2 separate regions of the Homo sapiens genome follow, and region 2 is linked to region 1. Evidence: promoter capture Hi-C in 16 types of primary human blood cells and fetal thymus (Javierre and others, 2016). All regions are on one chromosome and are shown on one strand. Each heading gives the region's core, a stretch centred on a gene start or on the middle of the fragment in contact. The rest is flanking DNA. Distances are from core to core; before and after follow the strand shown.

The links. The method cuts DNA at HindIII sites, captures the fragments that hold promoters and counts their contacts. A CHiCAGO score of 5 or more calls a contact.
Region 2: a contact is called between a fragment that was not itself captured here and the fragment with the promoter of AGXT in region 1, in 1 of 17 cell types (naive B cells). The highest score is 5.5, in naive B cells.

The regions. Positions count from the first base shown.
Region 1 is chr2:240,863,338-240,870,105 of GRCh38, reverse strand. AGXT (alanine--glyoxylate aminotransferase) reads right to left here and starts at 1,282. Exons shown (of 11, transcript NM_000030.3): 1 at 1,076-1,282; 2 at 744-936. The coding sequence starts at 1,240. RefSeq lists an enhancer at 1,263-1,763. The HindIII fragment of the contact is 16,005 bases long and covers 1-3,646 here.
Region 2 is chr2:241,583,507-241,589,838 of GRCh38, reverse strand. It overlaps THAP4 (THAP domain containing 4), which reads left to right. Exons shown (of 6, transcript NM_015963.6): 6 at 5,114-5,434. The coding sequence ends at 5,233. It also overlaps the pseudogene RNA5SP122. Among named protein-coding and RNA genes, the nearest start is that of BOK-AS1, 28 kb to the right of the region's middle. RefSeq lists enhancers at 1-240, 5,012-5,540. The HindIII fragment of the contact is 4,093 bases long and covers 3,036-6,332 here.

The DNA.
Region 1 (6,768 bases), core at 33-2,532:
GCGGCCAAGGGGACAGAATGGGGAAAAGGGAAGCCATATACCACAGGCATCTGAGCCTGCGTGCCCTGATGTCCACTTGGGGTCCTGGCCTCTGCCGACCCTGGGTCCCCTTGAAAAGTTTGTGGACTTGGGGTTGGGACCCTCTTGGCTGTTGCGGTCGCGTATTAACCAGCATGGCCATTGTGGAGCTCACCAAGCTGATGTCCCTCAATGCCACAATCAATCATTAAACCCAGGGCACACTCCTGCTCCTGTGTCTCTCCCAGAAAAGTGTACTCCGGAGGCGAATACTCTGCCCATACCTCCATATTTTGTGTATCACATCAAGATTCCAGAAGGAAGGCTGCTGAGATTTGAGGGGAGGCTTCAGCTTCTGAAACCCCACCCTGTCACAAAGCAGAGCTGGTGCCTGGGGCCCTGGACAGCGGCCGGGGCTCTCAGGAGTGTGTGCTGGGACCAGAGGCTTCCCTGTAGTTCCGTCCTGCACATGCTCCAGAAACAGCTCAAGGAGACTGGGGGGATCGGGGCACCTGTGCTGCTCCCAGCCCTATCAGAGTCAGGCCTCATGAGTGCCCGACACCGCCTGGAGGAGGCAGTGGGCTGGCAGGAGGTTCGTGCGCACAGGGCCACAAGGTGGGTAAGCGCTCACCCAGGAACGGGGGCTGCCAGCTTCAAACAGAGGGAGGCCAGGGAGGCCTTGAAGGATGGATCCAGGGCCATCCCCACCTGGGCCTCTCCCTTACCTATGCGCTCCCCGATGTCCACGGCTCGCTGCCCCCAAATGCCATTGGCCCCAACCAGGAAGGAGTCCCCAGGCTCCAGCACATTGACCAGGGCGGCCTCCAGGGCACAGTGTCCCGAGCCAGAGATGACCAGTGTGAGTGGGTTCCTGGTCTGGAACACGTACTGGATGCCTTCCTTGATCTCGTCCATGATCTGCATGCGGGTGGTATAGGGTGAGACCCAGGCTCCCCGCCTCCCCAAGTGAGGAGGCAGTGACCCCCTTCCCTCGTCCACGATCTGTGGGTGGGAACATGGGTGAGACCCAGGCCCCCCGAGTGACCCCCACTCCTACCTGGTACATATCCTTGCTCATGGACCCGATCATCTGCAGCCCCCCGGCTGCCATGATGCGAGGAGGCAGGTTGGAAGGACCAGGCCCCAGCAGGAGCTGGTTGGGGATGGAGAGGGGCTTGAGCAGGGCCTTGGGGGGGGTCACCAGCAGCTTGTGAGAGGCCATGGTCCGCACCCAACCTGCCGCTCGGGAACCTGGGGCTGCACTGGCCTTGGCCAAAGCCTGGAATATTTCCCAGCAGGGCGGACACAGAGGTGAGAGGTGAGGATTGGTGGATGGGCTTCCGTGGCAGCCCTGCCTTTTGTTCCCTGAGGCTTATCTGTGCTTGTGCTGCGGGTCACGGCCAGGCAGCAGGGGACGAAGCCCTCAGGCAGAGGGAGCCCCCAGGGCTGAGTGACAGAAAAACAGAGTGTGACAAAGCTGTCCTCACCCCAGCCCTCCTCGCTCCCACTCTGAGTCCTGCACGTCCAGCCCCTCTTATTCTGCTTAGCTCAGGGGTGAGAGAAGTGTTTCTTAAAGGGTCGGAGCACAGATAATTGAGGCTTGGCAGGCCCTGTGGTCTATGTTGCAACAACTCAACCCTGCTGCGTGCTTGCAAAGCAGCTGCCAGAGGTGTGGGCGTGTTCCTATAAAACTTTATTTACAAAAAGCAGGTGGCAGGCCAGATTGGGCCCATGGACTGTGGTTTGCTGACCCTGGCGCAGCTGATGGGAAGGCTTGTAAACCAAAAATAAAATTCGAAGGCCCCCCAGCAACCATCTGAATGGGGTTCCCTGTCCGCCAGGGTGCTCTAAACTTTAACCCGGAAGACGTTCAGGCCATGCCACATCATAACCCCCAGCATTAACATCGACATAGACCTTAAGTCTGATAGGAAGCATTTACCATCTATTTTCTCTCTAAATCCCGCTACCTGAAGGCATCATCTGCTCCCTGCAACCCCTATTTCATAACCCAGACACTCCTTTCTGCTGATAATAATTCTTCAGTCAGTTGCCAATCAAAATATGTTTAAATCTACCTATGACCTGGAAGCCCCCCAATTCAAGTTGTCCCGCCCTTCCAGATGGAACCAATGTAAATCTCCCATGTATTGATTGATGCCTCATATCTCCCTAAAATGTATAAAAGCAAGCTGTGCCCCGACCACCTTGGGCCCTTGTGGTCAGGGGTGCACCCTTGAGCTTGGCAAGGATGTCCTCCCTCCTGAGGCTGTACCACGGGTGCATCCTTAGCCTTGGCAACAAAAACTTTCTAAATTAATTGAGACCTGTTTGAGGTACTTTTTGGTTTACAGGCTCAATTTAGCAAGCAAACCTGCATGGTATACAGACACACACAAGGCAGGGGTTGCACAGTGAGTTTCAGCATGCTGCATTCCAGAGATGTATAGAAATTCTAGTTATGTATAAGTTTTAGGTTGAAAAGAGGCCTGGAACCAGGTGCCAACTTTAGATAATAGGGAAGTCTAATTCATTCTACATTTCTCAAATAAAGAGGCTCCCCTCCACCCACCCCACCTGGGGCCTGCTTGATGGTCTCCAGGTGATCTTTGCTGTCCTCATTTTCCCTCTGACAAATATCTTGGTGAAATCTTTGACCCTTCCTTTTCTGCCATGCTCATGTCCACCTGCTTCCTGTTGGGGTCTCAAGAAAGGGGAAACGGCACAGTGAAGAGGGGTGTCCAGTGCGCCTGACTACTTGCTGCTGAAAGGGAGTTCAGGGGGGTAGGTCACGTTTTTCCCTTTCTTGCTCTCGGTCATGAAGGGAATAAAGGGTCATGAAAACTTGTGCACGGAGGCACGTGATGGGATTCCATCAAGAAGCCCCACGTAAATGGGAGCTGCAGTTGCAGGCCGGTATTTCCATCAAGAAGCCCCATGTAAATCGAGCTGCAGTTGCAGGCCAGTGTTGGGAATGCATAGCCTTCTGCAGGTGGAATTGTTCTCATGTAGAACATAGAAAAGCAATCAGAGCATTAAAAAGGCAGGGACCAAATATTAAAAGAAAAATGACAGAAGATAAAGGTCTAAGGAATGGGGGAAGCCAAGTGATTTTTTGAAAACCAATCAGTAAAAGTTTTGGCCCAGTCTTGGTTGCTTTGGGAAAGTGTGTGTAGCCATTTGGCTTGTTTGATGATTTCTTGGGCATCGGTTTCCACTTCTCCAGACACATAAATGTAGGTGCAACGGGTCCTGTTGATGACAGCACAGACCCCTCCTTGTTCAGCTAGGAGGTAATCCAGAACTCACCTGTTACCAGACACCAAAATCCTGCTTGTGAGTCTAATGACTTGTAGAGCTGATAGATGGGTGCCAGCTTTTGCTATTTCAAGGGAGGCGGTAGGTTCTCTTACTTGTGATTTCCTGGTAAGTAAAACCTCCCCAAGGGGTAAGAGTTGTGATAGTTCCCACAACTCCGGCCACAGTAAGTCCCAGGGCCCTTTTCCTTCTAGAAGGGAATTCTGAATTAGAAGTGATGTTTAAGACAGTGATTTGGGTGGGAGCTATTGTTCCCAGGCTACAATCACCATAGTGAAGAGAATGATCAAGGTGGGATAGGGCCAAAGCTTGAAAAGGGTTTAAATAGTTTTTAGTGGGGCTGCTAAGCCATAAGAGCCCAGGAGGGGCAGGATGATTATTTTAATTAAAATGTTGGGAAAAAAGGAAATGGGCCTTTTGACAGTTTTAAGAGGACTCATATGGGGGAAAGACTATGTTTATGTACTGATGGAGGAGGTTTAAAAGCAGGCGGGTGCCAGTGCATGGCATAGGATGTAAACCAGGTGGCACGGTGGTTATTTCCTGCACTGGTTGCATCATTATAGTAACATACATGAAGGTATTAGGAGTGCAGGGGTGCTGTATACTGGGAGCCCCACTATACTGGTCCAGTTTAACGGCTTATAAATTGGCAGTGATGAGATAGAGTCAGATTTTTTTTTTTTTTTTTTTTGAGATGGAGTCTCACTCAGTTGCCCAGGCTGGAGTGAAGTGGTGTGACCTTGGCTCACTGCAACCTCTGCTCCTGGGTTCAAGCGATTCTCCTGCCTCAGCCTCCTGAGTAGCTGGGATTACAGGCACCTGCCACCACGCCCTGCTAATTTTTGTATTTTTAGTAGAGACAGGGTTTCACCATGTTGGTCAGACTGGTCTCGAACTCCTGACCTCAGGTGATCCACCCACCTCTACCTCCCAAAGTGTTAGGATTACAGGTGTGAGCCAGCGCACCTGGCCAGAGTCAGAGTTTTGATTGTAGGAGGCGAAGGCCTCAAATGAGTCAAAGTTAGCTGCATGAGTGTCATTATAACAAGGTGTACCTCCCAAAATAACATTACAAGTTAAGGAAGTTTCAGTGATATTGTAAGTGTGGATGGTGGGGGAAGTAATATGATAGCACGAAGAGGGAGGTGGTTTCCAATTTACCAGCACAGAAGGAAATGGTCGGGGTGGGAAGGAGTGGTGAGAAGAATAATGAAATCCCAACAGTACAGTTTGATTGGAGACAGGGTGTGCTTACGAAGAAGAATCTACATGGCTTGGAGTAGCAGGTTGTGGACGGCAAAGCCAGCCACACAGAGTATTTTCTCCTCTCACAATAGCATGTGAGATGCTGAAGATGATATTGTCAAACCAAGAGGATTGGGAAGTTTTTATATGAGAGATAAAGAGAAAAACATGAAAGAAAGAAAAAAGGAGTCTCATTGTTCTAATTCAAGGACTGTTACAAAAGTTGCTCCAAGTATAATTAGAAAAACCACCCTGCAAATAAAAATCTAGTGCAAGCTGAATAATTGTATGTGGGTCTTGAGAAATGGGGATTGGATAAAGAGACAGTAAATTGGCTGGGTGTGGTGGCTCATGCCTGTAATTCCAGCACTTTGGGAGGCTGAGACGGGCGGATCACCTGAGGTCAGAAGTGTGAGAACAGCCTGGCCAACATGGTGAAACCCTGTCTCTACTAAAAATACAAAAAAAAAAAAAAAAAAAAAAAAATAGCCGGGCATGGTGGTGCATGCCTGTAATCCCAGCTACTCAGGAGGTTGAGGCGGGAGAATCACTTGAACCCGGGAGATGGCGGTTGCAGTGAGCCGAGATCGCACCATTGCACTATAGCCTGGGTGACAAGAGCAAAACTCTGTCTCAAAAAAAAAAAAAAAAAAAAAGTAAGTGAATTGAGGATAATCTCAGAAAATTGGAGGACCTAAAAACGCTTCTAGAGTACATAAGGAAATGAATGACAAGGGAGGGAAAGGAAAGTGAATGATAAACACAGCAAAAGGCTTACGTGGTATCCTTTGCTTTTGAAGAGAGGTTAGTGTCACCTGGTTGTTTGCAAAACAAAAATCATAGATCTTCCAAGGGCTCAAAGTGTAAGCAGGCTGGAGTTCTGGCGGCAGTACAGACTTTATGTGGCAAAGGTGGACCCAAGGGGAGAATCCCTGCAGTTAACAGCTGTGGGAGAGGCTATGAGGACTTGAAAGGGTCCAGTCCAGAGGGCTGGAAGGGGTTTTCTGTCTGGAGGCAAAGTTTTTAAATATACCCAGTCCCCAGGTTAACAGGAGGTCTTAGTTCTGATGAGGAGGGGTCAGATTTTGGACAAAATTTATCCTGGTATTCAGTAGTGGCCTGGATAGTTTGCCCAGGGAGGCATCACATTGAGACAGATAATGAGCCTCTGGATCAAGTAATAAGTCCGTTTGTAAAAAGGGGCATCCATAAATAATTTCAAAAGGGCTAAGGTGGGTTGAAACCTTTGGGAATTACTCTAGATCTTAACAGGGCAATAGGAAGAAAAGTTATCCAAAACAGTTGAGTTTCTATAGAGAGCTTAGTGAGAAGGGTTTTCAAAGCTAGCTTGGCCCTTGGATGACTGTGGGTGGTAAGCAGCATGTAAGTGATATTTTATTTGGAGGGCCTCACTGATTCCTGGAGTAATAGAAGAAATAAAGGCCAGGCCATTGTCTGATTGGAGGGATTGAGGGACCCCAAATCGAGGAATAATGTGTTCTAAAAGAGCCGTAGTTACTTCTGATGCTCTTTCTGTTCGAGTGGGAAGGCTTTAGTCCAGCTTGTGAAAGTGTCTATAAAGACTAAAAGGTATCTGAATCCCTTATGAGAGGGCATGTGGGCAGAGTCAGCTTGCCAGTACGCCCCTGGGACAGGCCCTCTACGTTGAATAGGTTGGAGGAGGGCAGGGGGTTCATTGCACCCTCAGGATTTGATTGACAGCAAATTGGGCAGGATTGGGAAATGTCCCATAGAGTTGGGGCTAGGCTAGGTTAGGCCCTTGAAAAAGAGGATCTCTTAAGGCTTGTAAAGTTTCCACCCCCAGGTGGTTAGCTTGATGGAGATTTTAGAGGATTTTCCATTGTGGAACCTCAGGGAGGAGAAGTTTATTTTCAGAGTTTTGAAGCCATCCTTCAGGAATGAATGTGAAACCCTGTTTTAGTGCCTTTTGTAAATTTTGTGGGGTGTGCTGGGGTTTTGGTGGGATTGGGTGAGGAAAGAGGGTGGCCAAGCAGTTGATTTAGTTTGTTTATCTGCATAATTATCCCCTCTGGCAGGATTTGAGTTATCTTTTTGATGAGCCGGACAGTGAAGGATTTTGCTATTTCAATCAGGAGATGTATGTCTTCTAGCAAGGTTGAAATTTCAGGGACATGCTGAATGGGGGTGTTATGGGCTGTGAGA
Region 2 (6,332 bases), core at 3,833-6,332, 720 kb before region 1:
TGGTGGTCCACCAGTGAGCTTGTCAGTTTTGTTTATCCTTTCTGTTGATGGATGTTTATTTTATTTGTTTCCAGTTCCGGGCTATTAGGAATAAAGCTGTAAGCATGTGTAGACCTAACTTTGTGTGGACACATGTTTTTTTTCCTCTTGGGTGCATACCTGGGATTGGAACTGCTGGGTTCTGTGGTAAGCACCAATCTCTTCCAGAGTGGCTGTCCCCCTTGACACCCCAGCAAGGTTGTCCCACAGCCTCGCCAAGGGTTGGCCTTTGAGTTTTATCCTGGCCACTACAGGGTGGTATTTTATTGTGATGTTAATTTGCACTTCCCTGCTGAGTAACGATGCTGCTCATCTTTTTGTTGTACTTATTTGCCACTTGTATTTCTTGTTTTGTGAAATGAACATTCAGATTTTTTGCCCATTTGTTTAAGTGTTTGTGTTATTCCTGAGTTGTAAGAGCCTGTTGTTTGTTCTGGGTATAAGTCCTTTATCAGGTGTACTTGCCAACACGATATTCCTATCCTGTGCCTTGCCTTTCTGTTTCCTAGACAGTACCATTTGAAGAACCAAATGTTGTTTTTTTTGGTGGGGGTGGGGGGTTTCTTTTCTTTTTCTTTTTTTTTTTTGAGACATTGTTTGCTCTCGTTGCCCAGGCTGGAATGCAATGGCCTGATCTCAGCTCACTGCAACCTCTACCTCCCAGATTCAAGCGATTATCCTCTCTCAGCCTCCCAAGTAGCTCGGATTACAGGCTCCCACCACCATGGCCGGCTAATTTTTTGTATTTTTAGTAAAGACGGGGTTTCACCATGTTGGCCAGGCCGGTCTCGACCTGACGTCAGGTGATCCACCCTCGTTGGTCTCCCAAAGCGCTGAGATGACAGGCGTGAGCCACCATGCGCAGTCTAGAACCAAATGTTTTAATTCTGTTACCATTTTTTTTCTCTAGTCAGTGCTTTTTGTGTCCTGTCTTAAAATTTTTCACCTAGCCCAGGCAGCAAAGATTTTCACCTGCATTTTCTTCAAGAAGTTTTATAGTTTTAAGATATATGCTATTTGGAATTGCTATTTCTAGATGGTATGAGGTAGTAGTCACGTTTTTTCCATTTTTCCTCATACAGATACCTCGTTTCCAGCACCATTTGTTGAAAAGAGAACCCTTAATTTATTAAAGTATGCAGTGCTTTTGTCGAAAATCAACTCACTTTGTGTGTGTGGTTCTTCCCCAGGACTCTCTCTTCTGTCCCACTCTTCTCTGTTTCGGTCTTTATACTGTTACCATGCTGTCTTGATCATTGTAGCTTTATATTGAATCAGGTGATAGAAGTTACCCAACTTTTCTTCTTTTTCTTTTTTCCAAAATTGTTTTGGCTATCCTAGGACCCTTTGCATTTCCTTATGAATTTCAGAATCAGCTTGTCAGTTTCTAGAAACATTTTCATTGGAACTACTTGAATTTCTAAATTAATTTGGGAAGAAGTGCCATCTTAGGCAAACTGAGTCCTCCAATCCAGTGCCATGGTAAGGTGCTCCATTTATTTAGATCAGTCTCATCCTATATTTTCTTGTAGTTTTCAACGTATTGGTTTTGCACACATTTTGTTAAATTTATTCCTACATATTTTGTGGTTTGGGATGCTATTATAAATGATTTTTTAATTTTCCACTTATTTGTTGCAAGTATATAGAAGTACAATTAGCTGTTGTATATTGATCTCGTATCATGTGACTTTGTTAAATTCATTCATTTCTGTAGTTTGTTTCTTTATTTTTCTTCTTTTCCTTCCCTCCCTCCCTCCCTCCCTTCCTTCCTTCCTTCTTTTCTCTCCTTTTTACTTTTTTCTTTCAATAAAAACAAGGTATTCTGTGTTGCCCAGGCTGGAGTAGAGTGGCTATTCTCTAGTGATTTTTTTCTTTTTTTTTGAGATGGAGTTTCTCTCTTGTTGCCCAGGCTGGAGTGCAGTGGCGCAATCTTGGCTCACTGCAACCCCCACCTCGCCAGTTCAAGTGATTCTCCTGTCTCAGCCTCCCGAGTAGCTGGGATTAAAGGCATGTGCCACCACACCCGGCTAATTTTGTAGTGATTTTTTTTTTCTTTGAACAGGGTTATTTAGAGATATGTTACTTATTTTCCAAATAATTGAGAATTTTTTAAATAGATTCTATTGCTCAGGATTTTTCATTCAATTCTATAAGGCCCAGACAACATACCCTCTAATATTTTAGTCTGTTAAAAAATGTTGGAGACTTATTTTACGCCCCAGTATATGGCCTAACTTCATGAATATTTCATGTACACTTAACGAATGTAGCATTCAATAGTTATAAAAGTCCCCTCCACAAGCTGGAAACCCTGGGATGCCAGTGTCATGGCTCAGTCCAAGTCCAAAGGCTTCAGAACCAGGGAAGTCAGTGGTGTCACTCTTGGTCCTGGGCCAAAGGTCTCAGAGCCCTGAGGAGAGAGGAGGTGCTGGTGACATCTGGGAGTCCAAAGGTCGGGGGGCCTGGAGGTGTCCAAGGACGGGGGAGGAAGAGTGTATCCCAGCTCCAGCAAACAGATGGACATATTCGCCTTATCTTTGTTTTTATTTTATCTGGGCCCCCAGCCTATTAGATGGTGCCCACCCTCATGGAGGGTAGATCTTCCTCACCTGGTCAGTCACCTCTGGAAACATCTTCTCAGACATACTCAAAATAATCCTTTACCGGGTTTCTAGGTGTTCCTTAATCGGTCACCTTTGACCTTTGACACCTAAAATTAACCATGACACCCACACCCACCTCTGGCTGCTTTCAAGTTTCTATTTTCTTGCCTTTGATTATCAGCCAAAGTTTTGCTGTGATATAATTAGAATTTGTGGCTTGATATATTTTGTTAGGCTCAGAAAATTGGCCATGATCTTTTCAAATATTGCTTGTGTTCTGTTGTCTTTCCTATCTTCTTCTGGGTCTCTGGTTACACATGTGTTCAGTCTTTTGCAATTTTCAATGTGTCCCTTATGCTTTCATCCATATTTTCCATTATTCTCTAAGCTTCAATGTGGATATTTCCTACTGATCATTTTCCATTTTACTAATCCTTTCTTCATCTGTGTCTAATTTGTCTATTTCATTATTGGGGCCTTAATTTGAGTTATTATGTTTTTCAGTTGTAGAATTTATATTTTAATCTTTTTGATAAATTCTGATTACCTGCAGAAATTCTCCATATTGTCTTCTAATAACTCCAGTATTGGTATCCCCTGGGTGAGGGTGGGGGAGGTGTCTATTTCCTGTTTTTTCTTTTGATCTTATCTCCTAGTAACCTAAGGAGTTTTTCTTTTTTTCTTGGATTCTAGACAATATGTGTGAAAAATTGTAGAGATGACTTGAGGCTTCCTTTGATGTTATCCTCACCAAAGAGCAGTTCTGTGCTTCTGCCTGTTGGTCAAGGATGGACAGCTCGTGTTCAGTAGAGGCTGAGCTGGTTTGAAACCGGACTTCCCAGCCTGTTTCTGGTTAACTCTTACTCCTGGGATGGGACCCTTCAGGGACCCCACCCAAAGCTGGGGTGCTTTTTTTTTTTTTTTTTTTTTTCCTCTTCAGATGGAGTCTCGCTCTGTTGCTCAGGCTGGAGTGCAGTGGCGCGATCTTGGCTCACTGCAAGCTCCGCCTCCTGGGTTCACGCCATTCTCCTGCCTCAGCCTCCTGAGTAGCTGGGACTACAGGCACCCGCCACCACACCCGGCTAATTTTTTTTGTATTTTTAGTAGAGACGGGGTTTCACCCTGTTAGCCAGGATGGTCTCGATCTCCTTACCTCGTGATCCGCCCGCCTCGGCCTCCCAAAGTGCTGGGATTACAGGCGTGAACCACCGTGCCCAACCTCAGGGTGCTTTTTTTCTTTCTTTTTCTTTTTCTTTTTTTTTTCTTTTTTTTTTTTTTTTTGAGAAGGAGTCTTGCTCTGTCACCCAGGCTGAAGTGCAGTGGCATGATCTCGGCTCACTGCAACCTCCACCTCTTGGGTTCAAGCAATTCTGCTGCCTCAACTTCCCGAGTAGCTGGGACTACATGTGCATACCACCATGCCCGGCTGCGCCTCTCCTCCTAGATGGACACTGAATTCCAGTGTTTGTCCCTCCAGCTCCATGAGTCTGAGAAGGCCCCACTTAGCTTCTCAGCCTCTTAGCTACCACATCCCTCTCAGCCTCCACCCCTTGAACCCCTTGACTTCCGGGCAGCAAAAGCATCGGGGCCAGTTGCTCCAAATTGGGTCTCACCTCCACACTTCCTTCTCTTTGGGGTGCTGGTCCTCGCTGACTTGGTGGTTCTCTGACACCTTTAAAGAAACTTCTTAAAACCTGGGTTGTTATCTGCAGGAGGGTTGGTCAGTTACAGAGTAGTCAGCCATGGCCATAAGCAGAACTCCGTTTCATCCACTTCTGGTGCCCCCCACCCCACATGACCCCCCACACATCTGGGGCACTAGAGAGATAGTGCCCATCAGAGAATTGTCTTTTGACAGTGGTCACTCTCACAATTTGCCGGCAAACATTCTGGGCATATAGGGCTGACTCATTCGGGACTTAGCTGCCATAGGCTTGGATTCTTGTTGGAAACAGCTGCTATAATTTATTCTGATGAATTACTGTTCCAAAGATGGTATTTCTGAGCTTTCCAAGAACACACTGGACATCAGTTCTAGTTACAGTGAAAGTGGGAGGCAGTGGAGAAGGGAAGCACTGGAAGCTCAGCGCTTGTCTGATCAGGTATATGATTTGTAGAGACCAAAAAAAGGTGACTTCTCCCATCCAAGTACTAACCAGGCCCGACCCTCCTTAGCTTCCGAGGTCAGACGAGATCAGGTGCGTTCAGGGTGGTATGGCCGTCGACAAAAAAGGTGACTTCTAAATAAACAATCCCTGTGTTCCCCTGGTGGTCTTCTGGAGGCAGCTGAAGGGCACCTGGATTGTGACATGCCCAGGGGCCCTGGGCTGTGTGTCTACCCTCCTCTGGCAGGGCCACTGCCTGGCTCACAGCCCGTGATGAGTGTGTGGCATGCAGTGGGCGCACAGGCATTGATTGAATCTTTTGAAGATAAAACTAAGCTATCTTTGTTCCATTCTCCTGCTCAGATCACCCGGAAGTTCAGGCTGAATTCTGAAGGCAAACTTGAGCAGACGGTCTCCATGGCAACCACGACACAGCCAATGACTCAGCATCTTCACGTCACCTACAAGAAGGTGACCCCGTAAACCTAGAGCTTCTGGAGCCCTCGGGAGGGCCTGGCTACTGTGCCTCAACGGTTCGGCTCCTCAACAGACAGTCCCTGCGGCAGAAGTGGGTGTGGCCGTGAGCCTCTGCAGGCTCAAGAGTGTTGTCCAGATGTTTCTGTACTGGCATAGAAAAACCAAATAAAAGGCCTTTATTTTTATGGCTGAGGATTTTGAATATTATCACTTGCGTAGGCTGTACATTTTTTTTTTATCTGCTGATGTTTGTTTTCCAAAGCGTTCCCTAAGAAATTAAGAAGGGGGCTGGGTGTGGTGGCTCACGCCTGTAATCCCAGTACTATGGGAGACCAAGGCTGGCGGATCACCTAAGGTCAGGAGTTCGAGACCAGCCTGACCAACATGGAGAAACCCCGTCTCTACTTAAAATACAAAAAATTAGCCAGGTGTGGTGGCGCATGCCTATAATCCTGGCTACTTGGGAGGCTAAGGCAGGAGAATCGCTTGAACCCAGGAGTTGGAGGTTGCAGTGAGCCAAGATCGCACCACTGCACTCCAGCCTGGGAGACAAGAGCAAGACTCTGTCTGGAAAAAAAAAAAAAAAAAAATTAAGAAGGGATGAATCTCTTTCCTTTTCTTTCTTCTTACAGTTTTGACAAGATCTAAAATATTTGTAAATCTTCTATAGAGTTGGCCGGGCGCAGTGGCTCACGCCTATAATCCCAGCACTTTGGGAGGCCAAGGCGAGGAAATGGCTTGAAGCCAGGAGTTTGGGACCAGCCTGGGCAACGTGGCAAAACCCCATCCCTACAAAAAAAAATAGAAATATTAGCCGAGTATGGTGGTCCATGCCTGTGGTCCCACCTACTCAGAAGGCTGAGGTGGGAGGATCCCTGGAGCCCGGGTGGTGGAGGTTGCAGTGAACCAAGATCACACCACTGCACTCCAACTTGGGTGACAGAGCAAGACCCTGTCTCCAAAAAAAAAAGATGGCAGTCATTTTCTCATTACTTTTAAAGAGCCGAGTCTATATTTTCCTACAGATGGAGCATTCCCAAGAGGCTAGCTGTGATCTTAACATCATCATGTAAGTTTTAGTTTGTAACTCTAATACAGCTTTCGT